5 separate regions of the Homo sapiens genome follow, and all the other regions are linked to region 3. Evidence: promoter capture Hi-C in 16 types of primary human blood cells and fetal thymus (Javierre and others, 2016). All regions are on one chromosome and are shown on one strand. Each heading gives the region's core, a stretch centred on a gene start or on the middle of the fragment in contact. The rest is flanking DNA. Distances are from core to core; before and after follow the strand shown.

Region 1 (4,293 bases), core at 710-3,209, 4.0 Mb before region 3:
TCAGATCTTCCAACTCCTTTCTTTCCCTCCGACCTGTGCAGAGGCTCTTTTTTGTATTTTTCATAGAGATAGGGTTTTACCATGTTGGCCAGGCTGTTCTTGAATCCCTGATCTCAAGTGATCCTCCCACCTCAAGCCTCCCAAAGTGCTGGGATTACAGGTGTGAGCCACTGTGCCCGACCATCCCTGGCTAACTTTATTTTTTTTAGAGATGGGGGTTGGCGGGGGCGGGGGGGGGGGTTCTCACTATATTACCTGGGCTGGTCTCAAACTCCTGGACTCAAGCAATCCTCCTGCTTAATGGCCTCGCAAAGTGCTGGGATAACAGGTGTGAGCCACTGCATCTGGCCTGCTTATAGTTTTATGTGTGTGTTTGTGTATATACATTTTTGAACGGAGCATGTATGTCAAAATGCACCTTATTTAAGAGATGCAAATGTTTGACTCAGGATATCAAACATGGACTGGTAATCAACTTTCAAGGGATTATCTTGATGGTGCCTTGAGCTAAATAATAGTGATATAGGAGTTAAGAAGAAATTACTTAGGCAGATAGTGAGGATATGGGAGTCCTCAGTAAGGTTTTCCTTTTAATAAAAAGCAGCCCCCAAATCATTTTCTTTCCTAACAAAGAGCAGCCTGTAAAATTGAGCTGCAGACATAGACAAGCAAGCTGGAAGCTTGCACAGGTGAATGCTGGCAGTTGTGCCAATAGAAAAATACTACATAGGACTAGGCATGTTCCAAATGGCGGCTTCATCTTCCCTTTGCCAGCTAAGTGTACAGTAAGGAGCAGACAAGATGGCACTGGCCAAGTAGAAAGCCCCTTTGCAAAATAAGATTAGGGTGGGGCGACCAGCCTTCCTGCGTGCTATGTAAATGTCACACCTGGTCGAACCAATCTGTGGCCCCTATGTAAATCAGACACCGCCTCCTCAAGCCTGCCTATAAAATCTGCTGCAGTCCGCCACTTGTCCCATTTTTGGACGCCTCTCTTGCAAGAGAGAGAGCTGCTCTCCTCTCGCAAGAGAAAGAGCTGCTCTCCTCTCTCCTTTCTTCTGCCTATTAAACTTTCCTCTCCTGAACTCCACGTGTGTGTCCCTGTCGTTAATCTTCTCCGTGTGAGACACCGAACCCAGGGTATTTACCCCAGAAAACAAAGCCGCGTCATTAGCACCCTGTTTTCAAATAACTTCCTTAACTGAATTAACTGAGCAGACTTAAAGAACAATAGGCCATTGGCAACTTCAATTTAGAATCTCACTCTGCTTTGTTTTTCTTAACAAAGAAAAACTTTATTATGGAAAACTTAAATTTTATACAAGTATAGTGAGAACACTATAATAAAACCACCCATGTACCCAATATTCCATTTCAACAATTGTCTGTTCATGGCCAATCAAGTTTTATTTATACATCTTCTACCCCCCCTCCTGCCATTTTTCCTCCCCAGCTTATTTTGAAGCAAATTCCCAGACATCCTATCAACTTATCCCTCATTGTATTTTTGAAATCAAAGGACACTTTGATCTCATCTCCTCCTCAAACAATCAGCAGCAAGCCTAGCCACCTCCACCCATTCCCCTAAACTGCCTTTGAAAAACCCGTAACCTATGAGCTTTGGAGGAGATTATTTCAGTACTAATTCCATCTCCCACATGGTGTGGCCAGCCTCGTGTCTACTTAAACTCTTTCTTTACTACAATGCTGAAACCGCCTTTGCAAAATTATAACTGAGGAAATTATGACAGTGAATAAAATCAGACCTAATCAACTCCATCTTGCTTCTAACCTTTAGGCTGTCTTTGTTCATTCCTGGACATAGGCTGAACTAACTTTGGGAAAGAATTCAGTTCATGGTGTGACTCTGAAACAAAATTGATAGCAGCCCTTTCCCAAAAAGACCCCCTTCTTGCCTGGGGACGAGTCTGCCTCTGCAGGACTAACAACTTAGCTAGTGGTTAGAAATTATAGTTTAGGGGTTGTGCAGCCTCTGGCTCAGAGTCTGAACCTCCCCAAATTGCTCCTTGGGATAACATCACTATTGTAAAACCTAAGATCAGCGCTTGAGATATTTTGCAGACCCTGCACTTGATGGATCAGCTGACACCACCCAGACCCGTAATCTGGCTCAACCAGTTCTGCCATCCTACCCAGGAACAAAAGACAGCAAGAAAACCTCACTTCAACCCCCTATGATTCCATCTCCAACCTGAGCAATCAGCACTCCCCACTTCTCAAGCCCTTACCCGCGAAATTATCTTTAAAAACTGATCCCTGGATGCTCGGGGAGACTGATTTAATAATAAAACTCTGGTCTCCCACACAGTTGGCTCTATGTGAATTACTCTTTCTCCATTGCAATTCCCCTGTCTTGGTAAATCGATTCTGTCCAGGCAGCGGGCAATGTGAACCCACTGGGCGGTTACAATGCCCCGTGGTCTTTCTTTGTGCAGCAGGCAGGAAGAATCCCTTGAGTGGTTACAATAATATGAACTGAAATGGTTAAGATTAATGCTTAAAGTACACCCTTAAATTTATGCAAGAATCTAGAACCCAAGGAGCAGGAAAAATAGTTGCTCAGTTACACTATACAAGAAGTTTGGCCAGGTGCAGTGGCTCACGCCTGTAACCCCAGCACTTTGGGAAGCTGAGGCTGGTGGATCATGAGGTCAGGAGATCGAGACCATCCTGGCCAACATGGCGAAACCCCATCTCTACTAAAAATACAAAAAATTAGCCGGGCGTGGTGGCGTGCACCTGTAGTCCCAGCTACTCAGGAGGCTGAGGCAAGAGAATCGCTTGAACCCGGGAGGTGTAGGTTGCAGTGAGCCGAGATCATGCCACTGCACCACTGCACTCCAGCCTGAGTGACAGAGTGACAGAGCGAGACTCCGTCTCAAAAAAAAAAAAAAAAAAAAAAAAAGAAGTTGACGCTTTCTGTGGCTTCAAATGGTGCAAGCTATGAAAGCTCTTTGAAAAAGCTGCTAAGTGTTATATAAATACAAGTTATTATTACTCAAATTGATTTTGTTAAAATGCTACCCATCATATAAATGCAAAAAGCTATGAAAATAGTCATTTTGGACGACTTTTAGTATCATTTTTTTGTTTTCTTTTAAAGTCAATAAATATCCCCAAACAAACAACTGCAACTAATCAGGATTCCCTCTGATAAAACTGATTTGACATTAAAATGAAATTTCAAAACCTTCTAAAAGATATGGGGAAAGCTTGCCTTAACTGTTCTTCCTTTCCATTGATTTCCAGTCCTGAACTGAAGGAACAGTGAGTGATTATCTCATGTCGAGCACTGTGCTGTGTAAAGATGAAAAGATCATGCTCTTTCCCCACTCCCACAAGCTTGCAATCTACAAAGAAAAACTATTTAAACAAATACTTCTTTTTTTGTTACCTTTTAAAAATTGTGATAAAACATATATAATAGTTATCATTTTAACCAGCTGTAAATGTACAAATTCAGTGGCATTAAATACATTCATAATGTTGTGCAACCATCACCACCATCTGCACCCAAAACTATTTCATCATCCCCAACATAAACTATGTACTCACTAAACAATAACTCCTCCTCTATCCCTTAGCCCCTGGCAATCTCGCTTTTACTTTGTCTCTGTGTATTTATTTGCCTATTCTAGATACCCCACGTAAGTGGGATCGTACGGTATTTGTCCTTCTGTGACTGGCTTATTTTACTTAGTATAATTAAACAGATTTTTCTTTTCTTTTCTTTTCTTTTCTTTTTTTTTTTTTTTTTTTGAGACAGAGTCACGCTCTGTCACCCAGGCTGGAGTGCAGTGGTGCGATCTCGGCTCACTGCAACCTCCGCCTCCCAGCTTCAAGCAATTCTCCTGCCTCAGCCTCCAGAGTAGCTGGGAATACAGGCACCCACCACCATGCCCGGCTAATTTCTGTATTTTTAGTAGAGACGGGGTTTCACCATGTTGGCCAGGCTGGTCTCGAACTCCTGACCTCAGGTGATCTGCCCACCTTGGCCCCTAAAGTGCTGGGATTACAGGCATGAGCCACCGTGCCTGGCCATAAACAGAAATTTCTTAATCAAAGCTGGACACAATGACGGCCTTGATTTAGTGCAATGGGAATATGTGGCGCAGGGGCTCTAAGTTTCAGGAAAGGGTGGCATCTGAAAAATGTATTGTAGGAGAGAGACAATTTAACAGGGAGGCAAAGGCAGAGGGATGGACAGGGGAACCTTCCGCGATGATGAGGAGGTGGCAGGGGATGATGAGGCCCCAATGCTGAAGAGAACAA
Region 2 (4,439 bases), core at 135-2,634, 3.1 Mb before region 3:
GGCAACATATAAATCCTTATTTAATTCCATATTTACAATAAGTTATTCCGTATGTTTTACAAAATTACTGTACAAGCATTAAATATTCAGTTAAGTACCTGACAACTCAAGTATCTGTGACATCTGGACACAGAATGTTCAACCAATAAATCAATTCTGGACTCATAGGTACTTTGCAAGATACAGTTTGGGATAAGAACTTGTTCCAGCATTGGAGGGCCTATTTTGTGGGTAGCATGCTGGGTTGTATGAAAGCCAAATCAAACAAAATATCCAAGGAATTTGTATACCCAATTAAGTACACATCAATAGTATTATGGCAGTTTCCAGGTACATTTTCGCTAGTGTTGCTGGTGAAAGGCCAGCAGTGGAACCGTGGACTGGACAATGTCACCCGTGTTGTGGGCCTAACAAGTATCCTGCAAGTTCCATAAACACGAGGGCATGCTAAAAACTTAACCGATTTCCAACTTACATTAACCCTTTAAAGGGAGCATGGGACACACCACTTGACCATTTGAAGCAGTGCACACGGCTTGTCATGGAGAGGAAAACCTTTGAGACGTGCCCAGCATCATTCCTGTGAGGGTCGAAAGGGTCCCTAACACCTCCCACAAATACACTCACAAACACTCCAGCAAAGTTGGGGATGCTCACTGCACACCTTTCTTAATACCTGGAACAGAGTACCCACCTGTCACATACTCAGCTTCGAACCTCCTCCGGGTCTCAGAGATGAGCTTGGCTTTATTCTGGGCGTGATTCTGGATGGGAGACACGATGGGACCTTAGATACTACTTGCATCAACCCGCTTACCCTCAACCCAGCCCACCTGCACACGGGCGCTCGGTCCCCGGGCCTCAGAGGCGGCTTCCGGGTCCGGGGGGCCAGCGGCGGTGCAATAGGCTCCTCACCTCTGCCATGATCACCGTCGTGGATGTGATTGCGGTTGTCGCCGTCGCCCGTTCTACCGTCGCCGACCGAGTATCTCATCACCCGGCAGTCCCGCCCAGAGGTAGACAGAGAAGGGTGGGAGGGGGAGGCGGTCGCGTGACACCGGAAGGCGGACAGAAGCGCCGCCGCACCGCCCAATCCAATGCGGACGCCTGGGTCTGGAGGCGGGACCAGGCCCTCAGCCTAGGTCCCATTCGATTCTCGTCTGGCCTCGCCCCGCGACATCCCCCGCACTGCGGTCCCGCCCCCGCCAGCCGCGAGATCGCCGGCGCTTCCCCCGCGGAGCTCCGCCCTAGAGAGCTCGCGGGCTCTCTGCTTTCACAACACTCCCCAGGGCCCCGCCTCCTCAGCCTCCCTTGGCCACCTCTCCTGGCTGGCTTCTAGGCTCCGCCTCCTCTGCGTTCGACGCAGCCTCCGCCCGGCCTCCCAGGATGCAGCGCGCTGGCGGGAGGTTTGGAGCAGATGGATACCGTATCGACGTGGGGCCTCCGGTATGTTGCCGCTGCGTTGAGGTAGGATGGGGCTGGCGAGTCTTCCCTTCCCAGGACTTCGCAGAGGGGGCGATGGGGCTGGATTTCCTCCCCTTGTCCCCGCATTGCGGGAGAGAGGGAAGGAAGCGGGCATCCCGAGACCTGGGTCTGTCATTCCTTGCAATGATAATTGGATTTTAAGTGCTACATTCGCTTGAAGTTTTTTTCATCCCTTCAGTATCCTTCCAACTTGGAGTGTGAGATGCTTAATGAGCAAAATATCTCTGAAATCTTTAATCTCAAATAATTATATAAAGTTAAAAAAAGCGTGTTTCGGCTTATTAAGGTAGTTGTGTTCAGCCGGGGGGGTGGGGGGGTGTGTGTGGGGGGGGCGGTTTTACCACCCAGGGGACCTTTGGCAACCTCTGGAGACATTTTTAGTCACCACTGCTAGGGGCCGGGGGCAAAAGAGATGCTCACTGGCTACTAGTGGATAGAGACCAGGGAAGCTGCCAAACATCCTCCAGTGTACATGAAAATTCACAACAGTTATCCAGCCCAAAATGTCAATAGTGTCAAGGTTGAGAAAGATTTAGATTTAAAGGGACTGGAACAAATTTTATTCGTCAGTTAAAAACAATTGAAAGAAAATAGTTGCGCATACAATATTGCCTTTTTTAAAGTTGAAAGATACTGAAAACTACAAACAAGTTGTAAGAATAGTCCCCCATATTTCCATCAACCGTAGTCATCCATGACAGAATGGCATGTTAGCATCTTTTGTCCTAGACTTTTAAATATATTTACATTTTTTATGGGAAAAAATGAACACATTGTTTAAACGTTGTTTGACTACATCCTTAAAAGATATTTCAGATATAACTAAAGTCTCCTTCTACCTCTACTCACCTATCCTGGACACTTCCTTGTCCAGAATCAACAGCATTCAGAATTTGGCATGAAATGTTTACAGTTTTACATTTTTTTATTTTGGATCATACTGCCTGGGTTTGAATCCTGGCTCTGTCACTTCTTATCTGCAAGCCTTTGAGAAGATCCTGAAACTCCTTGCCTCAGTTTCTCCATCTATAAAATGGGATAGTAACAGTGCCTATGTCATAAGGATGTTGTGAGGAAGAAACGAGTTAATCCAAAGTGCTTAGAGCAGTACCTGGCACTGTTTCTTCAGGAAAAAAAAAAAAAATAGTACATGGCACTATTTCTTGAGAAAGCACTCAGGGACTGTAGTCATTGTAGGTAAATAGAACATATATAATGCTGTTTTATTTGTTTTACATAAATAATATGCTGCAGTGTACATTTGTCTGCAACTTAATTTTTAATTCATTTTATTTTTGAAATTTAACCATGATTATATATATATATACACACACACACACACACATATATAGATAGATAGATCTAATTCATTCCTTTTAACTCTTGTTTGATAGTCCATCTATACTCATTCCCCTATTGGTGTTCATTGAGGTTTTTACTTTTTTTATATTGCAAATATCAGCACAGTGAGCTTCTAGAGCAATGTATTCATTCATATGTGGGATTATGTCTCTGGGTTTATATCTACAAATGAAACTACTGGGTATATGCATTTCAGTTGACTGCCAAATTACCTTCAGAGTCATCTCTCCCTTTTATTTAAGTACTCATAATTTTCTTCTAATTGTTAGCTCTTTTTCCAGTCTGATCTCACTCACACCTTTAACACTGTCACCAGGATCTTCATAACTCAAAAGTACAGTCCTGTGATTTCTGTTTTTGAAGTCTTTCAGTGGGTTATCATTACTTATATGAGAAATTTATAAGTCCTTAATATGACATAAAAATCTTCTTTAGCGTAATCTTCCCAAATCCTCTAATTTAGTTGATCACGATTCTCCCGCATTTACTCACATTTCAGGCATATTAGATAATGTTGAAAAAGGTGAGATCAATTCTGTATAGGACCCAATAAATAACTTATGTAGGGAGAAAAAAACTTTTAACAGTGGCCCTATTTTGTAGGAAAGTTAATTTACTTTGGTTAACAATGTCATATGTCTTGGAAAAACAACATCTATCATTATTATCTTCATAAAATTATGTTCAGTATTATTAGGTGCCATTTTAGTTGAGTGTCTTAATTTTACTTTTTTCCCAAGGATACTTTCTCTTGGTCACAGTTAATATGGTTTCTTAGACTTTTTGGATGTCATCTGCTCTTCTAGGATAATCTGGAACCACACTGATAGTTTATTTAAAGAATTGTCACATTTATAGGGCCAAAATGATTTATGAGCATTTAAAAAGAATGAACAACATATTTATTAAGAGGGGGGGCAGTAAAGAGTAGATGAGGATGATAATTTTATTGCCAGCCTACTATTTTTATGTTAGCATATGCTTGTATATATTATCATTTTTCTAGTATACACACACATCTGTTTTAATTTTATGTATAAAATAGATAGTCAACTTTGATGTATGGTAATATAGAACAGGAAAAGCTCAAATTAATTATGTAGTATTTTATAAATAATCTACTTTCTGGTCTCCACGCCCCGCCCCGCACCGCCACCCTGCCCCGCACCGCCACCCCTAGTTACTTCTGTATCTTCTGCAGCCACTGTTATAATGTTAATAAGTAAAAAGTCAAATAGCCCATAGGCTAGAATAGTAAACCTGGGGCCCTGATAAGCAGAGTTTAAAATAGTGAGGGGTTGCTTATAATTGGACTAAGAACCTGTAAATTGAACCTTAGTTTGATTTGTTTCCAGATATGTTTCTATTTTTTTTAAATGCCAGTTATTTCATGGCCTGCAGGTTTTATGAACATATCCCAAGAACTTTAAAAATAGATGTTGCAGCAGCAATACTTAATATCTACTGTCTTAGCAGTTACACCTCAATAAAGCTGGGAAAAAAGTTAAAATTCATTTTAGCAATGAATTAAATTTTAATGATTGAGTATTACTTAGATATAATAAATAGCAAACATTAAAAACAAATGAGAT
Region 3 (4,525 bases), core at 1-2,500:
AGAGCTCTGGGAGTTGTAGTCTCCTGGGCTCCCCTATGTCCAGTGCCAGGATGGCTAGCTGGAGACTCTGGAATCCCTCCCTGTTGTGTCCCTAGAGGGAACAACTAAAACTAATGATGGGGCGTGCCCCCCCCCCTCCGCCCCGAGGAGGCTGGAGGGCGAGGAGAAAGAGGGATAGCAGACGCGGTTAAAAGACAGGAGCAGCAGGGGAGGGAACTGAAGGCAGAATATGCTCATCCCTTTAGGGATGTCCTTTAGCATCTCTAATGGACAGAGCTGTCCAGACATCGCCAAAGACACACCTGGGACTGCCCCTGTCCCTGCCGCCTAAGGCTTCGCCCAGGTGGCCCTAGGAACCCAGGTCTCTGAAATGAAAGCACCTGGGTGCTTTCCTTGGGGATCTGGGAGACCTGGTGCCAACTCCTGCCCGCCACCCAAATCTGAGGAGCTGCAAGATGTGGCTCAGCTCCCGGAGACTTAGGTGGACCGGCCCGGGGCGCGATTCCCATCAACTATGGTCAGACCCACGTAAATCCTTCAGAGTTTGAAAACGTAAATGCTGCAAGGCCCTGGGGTACGAAAACACTGGGCCAACCTTGCCCTCGGGATGGGGTTCACGGCCTACAGGCGGGATGGGGCCTAAACTGGACTAGGGTCCCAGGGACACAACGTCGCAAGTCAGCGGCCAGCGCCGTGTAACTATGAATTAGAACCTGGATCGGACGGCCAGGGCGTCCCACAGGAGCCCACCCGGCACCAGGCCGCACAGAAGGAGACATTTAACGCGAAGACAGAAACCGTATTCGAGAAGCCTCCTCCCTCAGCGGCCACCGTTGCAGTCGGGGGCGCAAACGGTAGCCCCGGTAACGCGACAAAGCATGGGCGAGGCTCCCAACCGCGCGTGCGCCGCCCGGCCTGACGGAAGGAAGTGGAAGCATCCCAGACCCCGCCCCGACTCCCGGGCGTAGCGCCCTGTGAGCGCCCCCTGCCGGCCGCACCGCTCCTCGCAGGCCGAGGAGCCCGGCCGGTCCCTCAGCTCCGCGCGGCCGTCCGCCCCCGCCCCCGCCCCCGGTCCCGGGTCCCCCAGCCCGCGCCTCCTCCCTGTCCCTCCGCGGCGGCACCTTGGCATCGTACAGCACTCGCGCCTTGGTGGGGTCAGGCTCGAAGCACAGCACTTTCTCCCCTGAGTGGAATTTAAATTTCATGCCCTCGCTCGCGCTCATTTGCTCATCGTGGCGGAGGGCGAGGCTCCGGGGCGGGCGGAGCGCGCGCGGTGGGGGAGGGCGGGCGGGGGCGGGGAGGCGGTGCGCCGTGGCCGGGGGGGGCCGGGAATGGCGGAGGCTGCGGCCGCCCCGCCCTCGGCCCCTCCTCCGCCCGCCCCGAGCCGCTGCCGGGACCTCGGAGGCGCCTGGCGCGCGCGCTCCCGCCCGGGCGCGTCCCCGCACGTCCCCGCCGGGGCTCCGGGAGGGGTGCGGGCGGGGAGCGCGACCCCCTGGCCAAGGTCTACCGGCAGGACGTCTCCCGTCGCCCCCATGGGAGAGGGTCCCCGCGGCCTCCAGGCTGCGCCCACGTGCGCGCAGGGTCGTCCGTCGCCCCGAGCGCCCGCTCTCCGGCCCGGGCGTGGGAGGCGCCTAGGGAGAGAGAGAGCCGGTCTGGAGTAGGCACCCGGCGGCCGGGAGGCTGGACGGCGTCTGCCCCCAAGAGCTCCCTGGCCGTGCGCGCCGCGTCAGCCCCCTTGGCAGAGCAGCGCGCCGATGAGTGTGGCCACGCTTGGAGAACGCAGCGCTGGAGCTGGCCCCAGGCGGGCAGTGGCCTCGGGCGAGGGCAGAAGGGCACTCCGGGCTGTGAATAGAACACTTGCTTATCCCTTCAGAGGACAAGCCGGTGGCAGGCCTGGAGCCCCCAGTGACGGGTTGAGCAGTGGGCAGCGAGGCAGATGGGTCCTTAAAGAGTAGCTGACGTCTTCAGTGTCAGCTTCTAGCGTGGCCTGACAGCCCCCAGCATCCCCGGAATGCCCCCCACGGTCTATCTGCTCCAATAGACTAAAAATTCCCTAAATAGAAGCACCCTTGAGGCCGCTATCAATATGGTACCTGCACAGAGTGGATGTTAAGTAAATACTTGATGAGCGAATGACAAGTGATGGGAGACTTGAAGGACAAACTTCCAGGGACAGGAAGGACAGTGCTGGGCTTTTTCTTTTGAGTTTTGGAAAGCCGTTGGGCAGTGTAATTACTGGATTAGGACCGGGCTGGAGACCAGCTTCCAGGCTAATCTCTGCGGACCTGGTGAACTTCCCCTTCTCTGTTCTAGCCTCCAGAAAGTTGCATTTGCTTCCCCTCTGCACGCTTCCTTCACCAGGTTCCTGGTATACATCCTTCACATTTCAGCGTGGGCATGCCAACAGAAAAGCCCTCAGGCTTCCCAAGATGAATCATAAAGCCCTGAGGTGTTCCCTCCCAGGACTCTGCTTAACCCCTTTCTTGCATGTACCACTGTGCTATAGAATGGGTTGTTCATTTGCAAAATGACCTCATTAAGACAGTAAGCTCTTTGAAGCTGGGGGTAGGGGTCTTATCCAATTCATCACGGCGTATTCGTGGCACATAATATGGAATGAATGAACAGATTGATTTAGGAAATAGAACCCACAAAACTCAGTGGCCAATTGGATGTGAAGGAGAGGGAAGGAGGAATCTTGAGAGACTTCCAGGTTTTCTGGCCCAAGGAATTGGGTGAGTAATAGCTGCATCCGCCAGAATAAGGCTATACAGAGGAGTTAAAGGTTGGGGGAAGATGGTCAAATGGCCTTTGGGGTAATACGGTGCAGAAACTAGAACTGGAACCATGATTCCTCTCCAGGTTGTGGTGTATCAGAGATGAGAACAGTAGATGGTGGTGTTCCCCACAAATGGCAGGGGCGGCTTGGAAGCACATGTAATTGCACGTCCTGTGTAAACCGTAACTGAAGTATTCACCTTTTTATTTTTCCTGCCCATGATTGGAGAGAGTTCTGCTGCAGGCTCTACCCTTTCAGGGATAGGATTTTAGATGCTTTCCTTTGTTTCTCCGCATTTCCACCCCTTCTTATGTCATTGAGGAATTCCTCTTTCCCCGTCCCTCTAAAAAGTCCAAGAATGCAAAAGCCTTCAGGAACCTAAAAGTTAAAAAGCCTGCCAATGGCAGCACCCCTTACAGTCCTCCTCCAGATTAGGATCCACTAGAGAGGGCTCCACCCTTAATGCAGGACATCATTTTTCCTCTCGGGTGTAAAGGTTAAGAACATGGCCAGCTCTGCAAACCACTCTCCAGGACCCAGTCCCATGCTTGTCACTTTCTAGCTTGTGACCATGGACAACTGGTTAGTCTCTTTGTAATGCACTTTGTTCATGTTTAAAATGAAGGAAATAGTGGCTCCTACTTCATAGGGTTTTTTAGGAGTCAATGAGTCAATTCAGTGTACATGGCTTTGTGTAGTGCCTGACATATAAGGGCTGGGTAAATATTTGCTCTTGACATTAGGCATTTCTTATCTGTTTCTCCGTGTCCCCCATTCATTCATTCATTCATTCAGCAAATATTTATTGGACCTCCTGTGTGCTGGTTGCTAGACACACAAAGTAGAATACATACATTACCCCTGTCCTCCCAGAGGGCACATTTCAGGAGGGCGGAGCAGCAAGCAATCAAGTTCAAGCTTTATGTGCATACCCTGATAAAGCTGGTGTGGAATAGAGGAGACAGAAGAGCTTACTTCTCTCTAGGAGGAGGGAGAGTATCTGAAAAAGCTCCAGAGAGGAAGGCACTCTTGAATTGCAACTTAGGTGTTTTCCTCATTTTCCAGTTTTTGAGGTTTGGACAGTAGTTTCGTCTGTATTCGGGCATGATTATAGAATGGTCTTGTTTTTGTCGGGATTAAGATAACCATTAAATCTTATAACAAATCTTTTTGATTTCTCATTATAGGTCACCTACAGGAATTGCTTCTCTTAGCAAGGTGAGTGCAGTGCGGGATCCAGTTAGTTGCGTCGCCCGCCGCCCCGCTGGCAGAGGCCCAATTTTGTTCAGGTGTTTGCCATCCCACATTGTTAGAGCAGACCTCTCACCAGGGCTGGAGTGACACTTGATCGGGCTAATACGGTAGGACTCACCTCTGGGTATACATTTGGAACAGCTGGGGAACTTTGAAAACTTGTTAAAATACTGTTGCCAGGAGTTGGAATTTTGTTTCCAAAGTTCCCAGGCGATTCCATTGTGCAGGCGGGGCTGAGAACTACTGGTCTAAACCAATCCCGGCAATCCCCTTCCTCTTACAGTGACTGGTTTAAGTATGGTCATGTGATACACGCCTGGCCAATGAGAAATTCTCATAGCGAGTTAAAATGGGGAACTGTGAGTACTTCTGGAAAATATTTTCCACCTGCCTCCCCCCAAAAGAAATACATCTGGCATAAAGTCTCCTCTTCCTCACTGGGTGTTATCATCTGCATCAGAATGCGGCGTTGGAGAGGGTGTCAGTGCTGTA
Region 4 (4,770 bases), core at 1,437-3,936, 3.9 Mb before region 3:
TTAGCACTTTCATTTCAAAATGTATTGTCATTTCTTTTGCTCCAAGCACAGTGGTGGGTGCTATGATGCAAAGATGACCAAGACTTGAACTGTACCTTCCAGGTATGTAATTTCTCCCTTAGGAGCCTCCTGAAATGCACATAGTATGGGTAAGAGAAACACAGAGCAAACCAGTTTGCAGCAGGGTGTTTTTTGCCACCTCAGATTCTGCCTTCTCTTGCCAAAAGAGGGGCTCTCAGCAGTATGGCCATGGTGGGGTAGTGGTGGGGGTTGGGGTAGGTGGGAATGGGTGGCAAAAGGCACAAATGTAGAAGTTGAGGGGCACTAAAGACACATTTCCCTTACAAATCTGAACTTTATTTCTTTACACCATCTTTCCAAGAAGAATGTAAGATATAAAACCCACATCATGGTCCTCAGTGATGCTGAGAAAGGAGGCAAACGTGCTTTCATCCTCCCCTCTCTTTGTGCACATTCATGCTAGTAATTGGCTGTGAACTAGCTCTTCTCCTCTGTACTGCTGTCCTTGATCCTGCTCCATCTAAGCTAGAGAGAAGACTACACCTACGTGAAAGGAGCGAGAATCATCTCTATGTGCATTGTGAAATAAAGCACAGCAGGATGAGAAGCCAGTCTTTTGGCACAGTGCCATGCGCTTTGCTTTGCATATGCATCACTTTGCTAATGTGCGCTGAACTCAGGGAGCCAGAGATGTGCAGCCATTACATTAAAGGGGACTGGTAGGAAGTTAGTGAATCCTGTGGAGGTTCCTTACCTCTAGGCTTGACTCCCTACCGGAGGTCTTTAGGCCAATGTATTAGCTCGTAAGAAAGTACCATAGACTGGTTGGCTTAAAAATTTTTGTTGTCTCATGGTTCTGGAGGTTAGAAATCTGAGGTCCAAGTTCTCTGCAGGGTTGGTTCCTTCTGAGGGCAATGAGCGCTCTGTTCCAGGCCTTTCTACTTGGATGGTTAATTTTATGTGCCAACTTGGGTAGGTCATGGTACCCAGATGTTTGGTCAAATACCAGTTTAAATGTCACTGTGAATGTATTTTTTAGATAAGATTAACATTTAAATCAGTAGACTTGGAATAAAGATTATTACCCTTCATGTGGGTGGGCCCTACCCAATCCGTCGAAAGCCTTAAGTTGAAAAAGACAGGTCCCCTGAGGAAGAGGAAATTCTACCTCCAGACTGCCTTTGGACTGGAGCTGTGCCATGGCACCAGTTTGTGCTCACAATCCAGTCTGAATGTGTCCCCAAAGTTCACGTTTTGGAAACTTAATCTGCAACGCAAAAGTGTTGGGAGGTGATTAAATCATGAGGGCCCTCCCCTCATGAATGGATTAATGCCATTATTAGGGGGAGCTGGTTAGTTTCTGAGGTAGTGGGTTCCTGATATAAGGATAAATTTGGCTTCTTTCCCTTCCCTCCCTCCCTCCTTCTTCACCCCCAACCACTCCCACCCCTCACATGCACATGTTCTTGCCCTTCTGCCTTGTGCTATGGGATGATGCAAGAGAGAGCCCTCACTAGATGCTGAGCAGATGCTGGCACCATGCCCTTGGACTTCCCAGCCTCCAGAATCATGAGCCACATAAATTTCTGTTCATTATAAATTATCCAGTGTCAGGTATTCTGTTACAGCACAAAACTGAGTAAGACAGGCTGTAATATCAATTCTTCCCTGGTCTCCAGTCTGCTGGCCTGCACTGCAAATTTCACGAGCCTACATTCACGAGCCAATTTTTAAAAATAAATCTCTCTCTAAACACACACACACACACACACGCACAAGCACACACACAGGCACACCCACACATACATACATACACACACACATATATACACATACACACACACAATTGGTTTTGTTTCTCTGGAGAACACCTAATAAACCTTGCTTCTGGTAATTCCTTGGCTTGTGTCAGCATTAAATCCAATTTTCGTAAGCCATTCTCATCTTGTCTGTGTCCAAATTTCCCTTTTAATTAAGGACACCAGTTATATTGGACTAGTGGTCACCCTAATGACCATAATTACCTTTATACAGACCCAATCTCCATATGAGGTCACATTCTGAGGTACTGGGGCTTAAGACTTAAACGTATATGAGTTTGAGATGGGAGGGTGCAATTGAACTCGTAACAGCCAGTGACACCTAAAGTATGTCTGCGTTGCCTAAAAGGTGCTGACAATTCTCAAACCAAAGTTAAAATCACTTTTGTTTAGTTTTATCTGTGTTTGTGTAAATACAGTTTTTAGTGGGAGTGTGTATGTCAAAATGTCTAAGGAGATGAAAAATCACCTTGTTGAAGCCATGTAAAAAAGTCTGGCTCAGGATTTAAAAGACAGACTGCCAATAAGCTTTCAATATCTTATCTTGATAGTTCCTGCAGCCAGGTAAGAGCATCTGGTTTTTAAATAACTTCACTATCTGAATTCACTTAGCAGGTTTAAACAGCAATAGTCCATGGGTCAACTGAATTTAGAATCTGTTTTCCCCTTATTAGGGCAAACTTCAAACTTGTACAAAAAAATGGTGAGAATAAATCATCTATATATCCAATACTCCATTTCAACAATTACCAGTGTGTGGCTGGATACCGCCTAGGAGAGCTAAGCCTTCTGTGCTACACATCCTTTGCTGTCACTGATTATTCATGTATGCCTTGGATATTACTAACATGTTCTTTTTCTGTTGTTTTGCAGCCTTAGAAATGTGTGAAAAAAGAAAAGATTCTAAAAGTCTTTAAATGTCATTCATAAGTAATGTATTTATTAAATGCCTCATAGCTTGAACTCTGCCTGATTAAGCAACTTATGCGAAAGAGACAGGAAAAGTACTAACAAAAGGTTACAATTATATTGAAAAATTCCTTGATTGGCATCAGATTGACTCTTCATTTTCTCAACTCCTGATTTCAAAAGGAAGCCTGCCTTTTGCAATTTCCTGAAACTTAAATTAGAGATTACGCTGCTATGTCTTAAGAAAGCTTAGCTTCCTCCTCTCACTCACTTCTTCCTTGAGAGTGTGATCCCAATCTGAGGTTGCCAAAGGTTTCAAAATATATTATACCTGATTTGTGTGTTGCAACTAACTGCCCCAGTGTGGCCAGTGACATGATGAATTTCCCTCTTTCCATCAGATTTCCTTAATATTCATATGCAATCACAAGGCACTCAACCTTTATTCCATTGCAACTGTGAGCAGTGGCAGCCTTTTTGCTTGGTTCCAAGCACAGGGCAGCTACGTATAGGCACAGAGAATGGTGCCCTTGCTGTTTCGCCTTTCGGTTAATTCCAGCCCAGGTACTGATTTAAAATAGCCCAGAAAGTTTTTCATTTCCAAAATATTCAAGAACAGTGCAGCTTTTCACTAAGTCCCTGAAGACAGGGGAGGTGGGGTGAACTTTGGTTCATTGTGAACTCTGATGCAGGCTATGAATAGTGACTCCTCTGAGAGATGCGCGGGGCAGCATCTTACCAGAGATTTCTGACTATTCTCCATACTCCAGCAAGACTTTCAAAGTGCATAGTGGAAATGGTCAGATTATCAGTAAAGAAGAAGGGGAAGCAGAAAGCAATGTGGTATTCAGTGGCTAATAAGGAGCATATAAACAAATTAAGGTTTACGCATCTTCGTTAAGTCATTTCCCAAGCTTTTCCAGCAAAAGTAAATGTGAGAGAAGTACACAGATATTAATACTAACGCGTTTCCAGCAGCCTCAGAGCAGCAGCATTTAACGCTGAATATCACACAGAATCCCAGCCACCAAGAATGTCTGCATTTTGGAGGTTCCTCTCCTCCGGCTCTGGGGCAAGGCACAACAGAAAAACTCAGATTTGTCCAAGGGACACAACTGTGCTTTTGATCTACTCTGGGGTGGCTGTGTCTGTCCATAGCCCCTAGCATAGTCAGGTGGGAATATCAACAATGCAGACCCGAGGGAGTCCCAGCTTGCTGCTCCTTGGTTTCTGGACACTCCTCTCATCCCGCAATGTCTCTGGGAAAGCTGTTCTACTTTTTAATAGACAGAATCCTAAAAGGATGTCTGGTGATCCCCATAGCGGAGAAAGAGGGCTAGAGTGGGGAAGTGGCTATTTCCCCGCCGCCAGCCTCCCACTCCCATTCCTCAGAGAAGCCCCGCCAGGGCCCCGGCCAACCTCGCCGCACCAAAAGCTTCTCTGGCTCCAGGGCCGATAGCGGCACGCGGTCATGTTTGCGGCAAGTGGCACAGTTCCTGCCCTCTCAAGCAGACCACGCCCTGCTGCTGCCCACGCTCCTTACTGCCGCCCGCCCTTACCCGAACGACTTACCTGAGCCAGAACCTCCTCGTTCGCTCCCGGTACCCGAGGATCCCGCACGCGGCCATCTTGGCCACGCCCCCTCACGTTTAGCCACGTCCCTACGCAGCAAACGTCATTTCGTCATTCCAGGTTACGCCCCTATCAGTCCCCATTCTGTCCCCGACCCAGGCTGAAATCTCGCCCTGGCCACGCTTCCCCAGCGCCGGAGTCCACACCTGCTCTGCGCTCTGGCTACACATCTCCTGTCGCTGCCACGCGCCTGCACGCTAACTTGCCGACGCCTCTGCCCTCCGCCTGCTCCACCATCTTTGTTACGCCCCTCAGAGCAACAAGGCACGCCCACACGTAAGGACCGCGCCCCCCACGTTCGAGGCACGTCTCTGCGTTCCAACTACGTCATGTCCCTACTTCCCTTTTCGCGCCACCTCCCTTGCCGGTCACTACTCCGCAGCCCGCC
Region 5 (4,693 bases), core at 2,084-4,583, 3.6 Mb before region 3:
AGCATAAGCCCGCAAGGACAGGGTAAATGATAAAGTCAACAGAAACAACAATGTTCTGAAAGCTGAAAAGCACGTAGATAAGTTGTAAATGATGTGGCCGACCTGAAAAAAAAAATAATTTAAGCCAACAGTCTGGAAAGATGAGTTCCCAAAAGGCTCAGAAGTGGGTGTCCCAAGCACCTCTAGAAATGGGAGGGATGAGAGGGGTGCTAAAATGAGGTTCATTCCAAAAATCTGTATAAGAAACAGTTTGATCCCAAATCTTCTCCCACATTCCCTGTGGTGGAGTGACTGCTCCTTCCAACCCCAGGCAAAAGATGGGTTATTAGTCGTTTGGCTAAGGTAAAAGAGAGAGCATCCTGAATGGGGGATGCCTGACATCCATGAGGGCAGGGTGCTGAACTAACAAGAGGATTAAGTGAACGCGTACATACTAGGTGCAACCACAATTCAGGCAGTTGGATCTGTACTGGAAAAGTATTTCTCTAGGGGGAATCTTACCAGCCTAAGAGAAAAGACCTAAAAAGGACTGAAATTAGCTGGGGGAGGGACTATCAAATGGAACAGCCCAAAGAGGTCATCAAGCCCCATTCCTGGGCTCAGACCTCAGATCAGCTCCTTTGTCCCTTTCTTTTAAGTATGAGCAAGCAAGCATGAATTCCCAGACCTCCAGGGAAAATTTCTAACATGAAAGACAGAGAGTAAAACACACAGAAAAAGGCAATTTGGAGGAAACAGAAGAAAACTTCAAATCATTAATAGCCAGGGGATGAGGGAAGAAGGTGAGACAGTGCAACTAATAAATAAAATGAAGGTGTTATTAAAAAAGAAAATGTCAGAGGACATAATTGAGCCCTAGGAAACTAAAACTATTATAATAAATTGAAAATTCAATAGAACAAAAAAGGAAGACAGAGTTGAAGAAATTTCCTATGAAGTAGAATAAATAAGAAATTAAAAGTGAAAAGATAAGAAGGTCTAACATCAGAATAACTGAAGTTACAGGAAATGAGAAGAGACACAATAGGAGATGTAATCAACAATTTAAAAATTCAAGAGAATTTCGAAGCACATGAGTTGGCAAGTGAAAAGGCTCTCTGAGTCCCTAGTCCAAAAGGTGAAACTATGCCTATACCAAGGCACAAAATGATGAAATTTCAGGACACGGGAGACTAAGAGATAATGTATAAGTTTCCAGAGTAAAGAAAAATTATGATAACTTCAAACAAAGGGCCAGGAATCCGAATGAAATTAGTTTTCTCAATAGCAACACCAAAAGCTAGCAGGCTAGAGCAATGCTGCTAAACTTCTGAAGGAAAATAATTTCTGGCCTACTATTTGGCACCCAAACTATCAATAAAATTGGAGGGCTGAAAAATAAATTTTCAGACATTAAAGTTCTTAGAAAATCTCCCGATCTCCCATGCAGTCTTCTTTAGGAGGCTACTGGAGGACGGTCTTCAAAAAAGGGTGCTAAAACGAAAAGGAAGACATCACTCAAACAAATCCCAATATCCTGTGATTTTCCTTGTCTCTCTCTTTTTTTTTATTGCCACGAGAAAACATCAGGTCCTCATTGCCTCTAGTCTAGAGCTAGTTTCTTAAGCTATAATGTGCATACTATCATTCCAGATCTTGTTAAATTGCAGATTCAGATTTAGCAGGTCTGGAGAATCTGAGAGTCTGCACTTCTGACCAGCTCCCAGTTGCTGTTGCTGATCTGCAGCCCCTACTTTAAATTGCAAGGAGGCTTCTGGACTACTGGAACAGCCTAACTGGTCTCTTCTCCAGCTGTGCCACTCTTTCACCTTCCTTTTCTCCAGTTCTTGGAACAATTTTCCTAGGACAAAGCTTTGATTGTGGTTTGACATTTCATCTCATATTCTGCATCAAAAAGAAGTAACTGCCTTAGTTACTCTTTTCCACCACACTAACCTTTGTTTCAACAGTGTGTAGCCTAAAGCTTATCAATATGAGTTTTAAAAATGCTAGTAACATCTTCATGTTCAAGGTATCTAATTGATTCTTTTATATCCACTGGTGTTTGTTTAATTTCTGCATGTTTTTATTTCCAAATTCTTATTCTTTTAAAAATGTCATTTCAAAAATTATTTGAATTGCGTCTAGAGTGAATTCTTCTTCCATTGTTACATTTGTGTGTTGTCTTTCTTAATATTATATATCTTCCATTGTTTTTGAATTTTGGTTTATAAACCAATCTTGAGAGCTCTCTCTCTCTCGCTCTCACTCTCACTCTCTCCTCTCCCCGTGTGTGTGTGTGTGTATGTGTGTGTGTGTGTGTGTGTGTGTGTGTGTGTGCTTATATCCCCCAGACTAGCAGTGATAGTGGAAAATTGCAAATTATGTTGCTTGGCTCAGTTCTGTTAGCAAAGTTATATCCTCAGACTGTTGGCAAAAAATTCTTTCAATGTCTATTCACAAGTAGGGGAGATGGTTAAGCAATAAGGCTTGGTTATCTATTGCTATGTAACAAATCACCCAAAAACTTAATGTTTTGAGACAATAACGATTTATTATTTCTCATAATTCTGTGGGTTAGTTAGGATCAGCTAAGTGGTTCTTTCCACATAGTATAGGCTGAAGTCACTCCAGTGGTTATATTAAATTGGGAACTCACTTACTGCTGGAATGCCCAAGATGACCTCTCATTCTTCAGGGCTTCTCTCCATGTGGCTTGCCATTATCCAATATCTTGTCTGAGCTTCACAGCATGGTCATTGGCTTTCAAGAGGAAAGGTTCCAACAAGATGCATCCCAGTAAATAAACACTTATTAAGCATCTGTGGCATCTCATTTGGCCATTCCAGTCACATGCTCAAACCCAGAGCCAATGTGGGAGAGGATTAGACAAGGCTGCCAATATGGAATACTGGTTTATTGAAGGTCACCGTTGTAACAGTCTCTCACAAAACTGGTTCCTGTATCAAGCCACACATGGAACCCTGTTAGTCTATTATTCTACAGGGGCTGAACCCTGGTTCACATCTTCCTGCTGCCACATACAGAATCCAGGACCTAGGTGGCTTTGTTCCTGATCACCATTTTGCGTATTGGTTCTGTTTCTGATACACGGAAATGTTTATCTTCTTGTTTAAATCACAGGTAAAACATTAAATTTTCTCATTTATATTGTATCACTTATTGTTATATTTGAAGCAGAATCAGGAGTTAGGAGTCTCAAAATACTAATTGAAAATGTGATCTTGGCTGGAAGTCCGCCTCAACATCAAGCCCATTTTCCTTAGTAATATCTTCTACCAGTTTGCTCTAACCTTCATTGATAATGCCACTCTTCTTCTGTCTGCCCACTTTCCCTTCTCTTTTCCTTTGTGATTACAAAGCAGTGTTTGCTGGACAGCACCTGTCTGTACCTCATTCATGTTGTTCTTGGAATTACCCTGTTCCCAAGAGTTGCATGACACCATCTACTTATTCTTCTAGCTAAATGCTGGCAGCTAGAAATACTCTTCCCCTTTGAACTCCCAATATTTTTCTTATATTTCTCTTATGGCATTTATCACTTCCTGCTTTTTATCGTAGATATTTACATATGCCTTAACTCTGTATTGTTTCCTTGCAAGTAAAGCTCATGCCAGGTTTTCTCTGCATCGTGCTTTGTACACAGATAGTAGGCTCTCAAGACATGTTTGTTGCCTTCGCACTCCAAGATTATCCCAAAGAGCTAATTTACATATGAAGTTGCAAAAACTGAATTTCAAGGGAAGATGATATCTACATTTATTTTACATCTTCATCATCTCAGGTCGTTTAATACTAAAACTGGTACCAATTGCCCTCATATTTTATTAAGTGCAATCAGAATATAATGCATGTAAGTATCTTAGTCTAATTTTAGTGGTTCCGGAGAAAATTCTCTCAAGACATACCTTGAGACCATACATTAAGGCAGGACACCATAATTAGAATCATCTCCAGATTTATATCTTAATCTTGCTACTACAAATTTCTTTTGACTTTTTAGAATATAGCCTTAAATGGAGACCTTTACTTAACTGACTATAAATGAAGTCATGTACCCAGGTGAGATTATGAACCCTTGGGAGTCGGAATCATGATTTATTTATCTTTTAATGCTCAGTGCCTAGGACAGAAGCTGGAGCTTTAAATAAATGTTCAATGTTTTCAGACTTTGTTGGAACAGCCTGCAGGCTCCTCAACGCCCTCCCCCACAGAGACTCAGCAACAGTGTGCCTCTATTAATATCTATTTATAAAGGTCAGCCTATTCTATATTTGAAACACAAAGAACCTTTTAAGAAAGGTGGATTTCTTTTGACTATTGATAACATGTACAGGAAAAGCTAGAAAAAATAAAAAGCTGTTGAAACACAGGGACTATGCTTAATATTTCTTGTATTCCCCACAAGGCCTTTTACAGAGCAGACATCCAGTAAATGTTTGATGATAAAAATAAGAAATATTTGTTATATTTTGAAAAAAGATTCATGGTGGAATTTCAAACGTGTACTGTGATCAGAACTATGGCAGGGGCAAACCAGGGGCTCAATAAGTGAGGCTTAACCCTCATTTATACCTTCCAGGATTTCTACCCCCACTCTTTGTCTTAAAACCTATTACAAAAATGGAAAGGAGGCCAAATGCTGTACCTATCTGGTAATGTCGCTGTTATCTGTGAAACCAACTACAAATTA

The links. The method cuts DNA at HindIII sites, captures the fragments that hold promoters and counts their contacts. A CHiCAGO score of 5 or more calls a contact.
Region 1: a fragment that was not itself captured here is called in contact with the fragment with the promoter of MSL3 in region 3 in 1 of 17 cell types (non-activated CD4 T cells); the score reaches 5.0 in non-activated CD4 T cells.
Region 2: a contact is called between the fragment with the promoter of FANCB here and the fragment with the promoter of MSL3 in region 3, in 1 of 17 cell types (naive CD8 T cells). The highest score is 6.1, in naive CD8 T cells.
Region 4: a fragment that was not itself captured here is called in contact with the fragment with the promoter of MSL3 in region 3 in 1 of 17 cell types (fetal thymus); the score reaches 5.3 in fetal thymus.
Region 5: a fragment that was not itself captured here is called in contact with the fragment with the promoter of MSL3 in region 3 in 1 of 17 cell types (total CD8 T cells); the score reaches 6.2 in total CD8 T cells.

The regions. Positions count from the first base shown.
Region 1 is chrX:15,744,656-15,748,948 of GRCh38, reverse strand. All of the region lies in intron 1 of CA5B (carbonic anhydrase 5B), which reads right to left. All of the region lies in intron 4 of CA5BP1-CA5B (CA5BP1-CA5B readthrough), which reads right to left. Among named protein-coding and RNA genes, the nearest start is that of CA5B, 8.5 kb to the right of the region's middle. RefSeq lists an enhancer at 918-1,779. The HindIII fragment of the contact is 2,553 bases long and covers 683-3,235 here.
Region 2 is chrX:14,870,014-14,874,452 of GRCh38, reverse strand. FANCB (FA complementation group B) reads left to right here and starts at 1,384. Exons shown (of 10, transcript NM_001018113.3): 1 at 1,384-1,467. It overlaps MOSPD2 (motile sperm domain containing 2), which reads right to left and starts at 1,032. Exons shown (of 15, transcript NM_152581.4): 1 at 916-1,032; 2 at 695-764. The coding sequence starts at 924. RefSeq lists a silencer at 1,065-1,294. The HindIII fragment of the contact is 4,870 bases long and covers 1-4,439 here.
Region 3 is chrX:11,754,962-11,759,486 of GRCh38, reverse strand. It overlaps MSL3 (MSL complex subunit 3), which reads right to left and starts at 1,250. Exons shown (of 13, transcript NM_078629.4): 1 at 1,122-1,250. The coding sequence starts at 1,223. MSL3-DT (MSL3 divergent transcript) reads left to right here and starts at 1,404. Exons shown (of 2, transcript XR_007068393.1): 1 at 1,404-2,735; 2 at 3,967-4,525. RefSeq lists an enhancer at 803-1,097 and silencers at 951-1,330, 1,341-1,490, 1,511-1,710. The HindIII fragment of the contact is 7,532 bases long and covers 1-3,699 here.
Region 4 is chrX:15,675,331-15,680,100 of GRCh38, reverse strand. CA5BP1-CA5B (CA5BP1-CA5B readthrough) reads right to left here and starts at 4,643. Exons shown (of 12, transcript NR_160544.1): 1 at 4,323-4,643. It also overlaps a transcript of CLTRN not described here and the pseudogene CA5BP1. RefSeq lists enhancers at 4,568-4,687, 4,360-4,770. The HindIII fragment of the contact is 629 bases long and covers 2,372-3,000 here.
Region 5 is chrX:15,336,927-15,341,619 of GRCh38, reverse strand. No RefSeq gene overlaps it. Among named protein-coding and RNA genes, the nearest start is that of PIGA, 3.8 kb to the right of the region's middle. The HindIII fragment of the contact is 2,735 bases long and covers 1,966-4,693 here.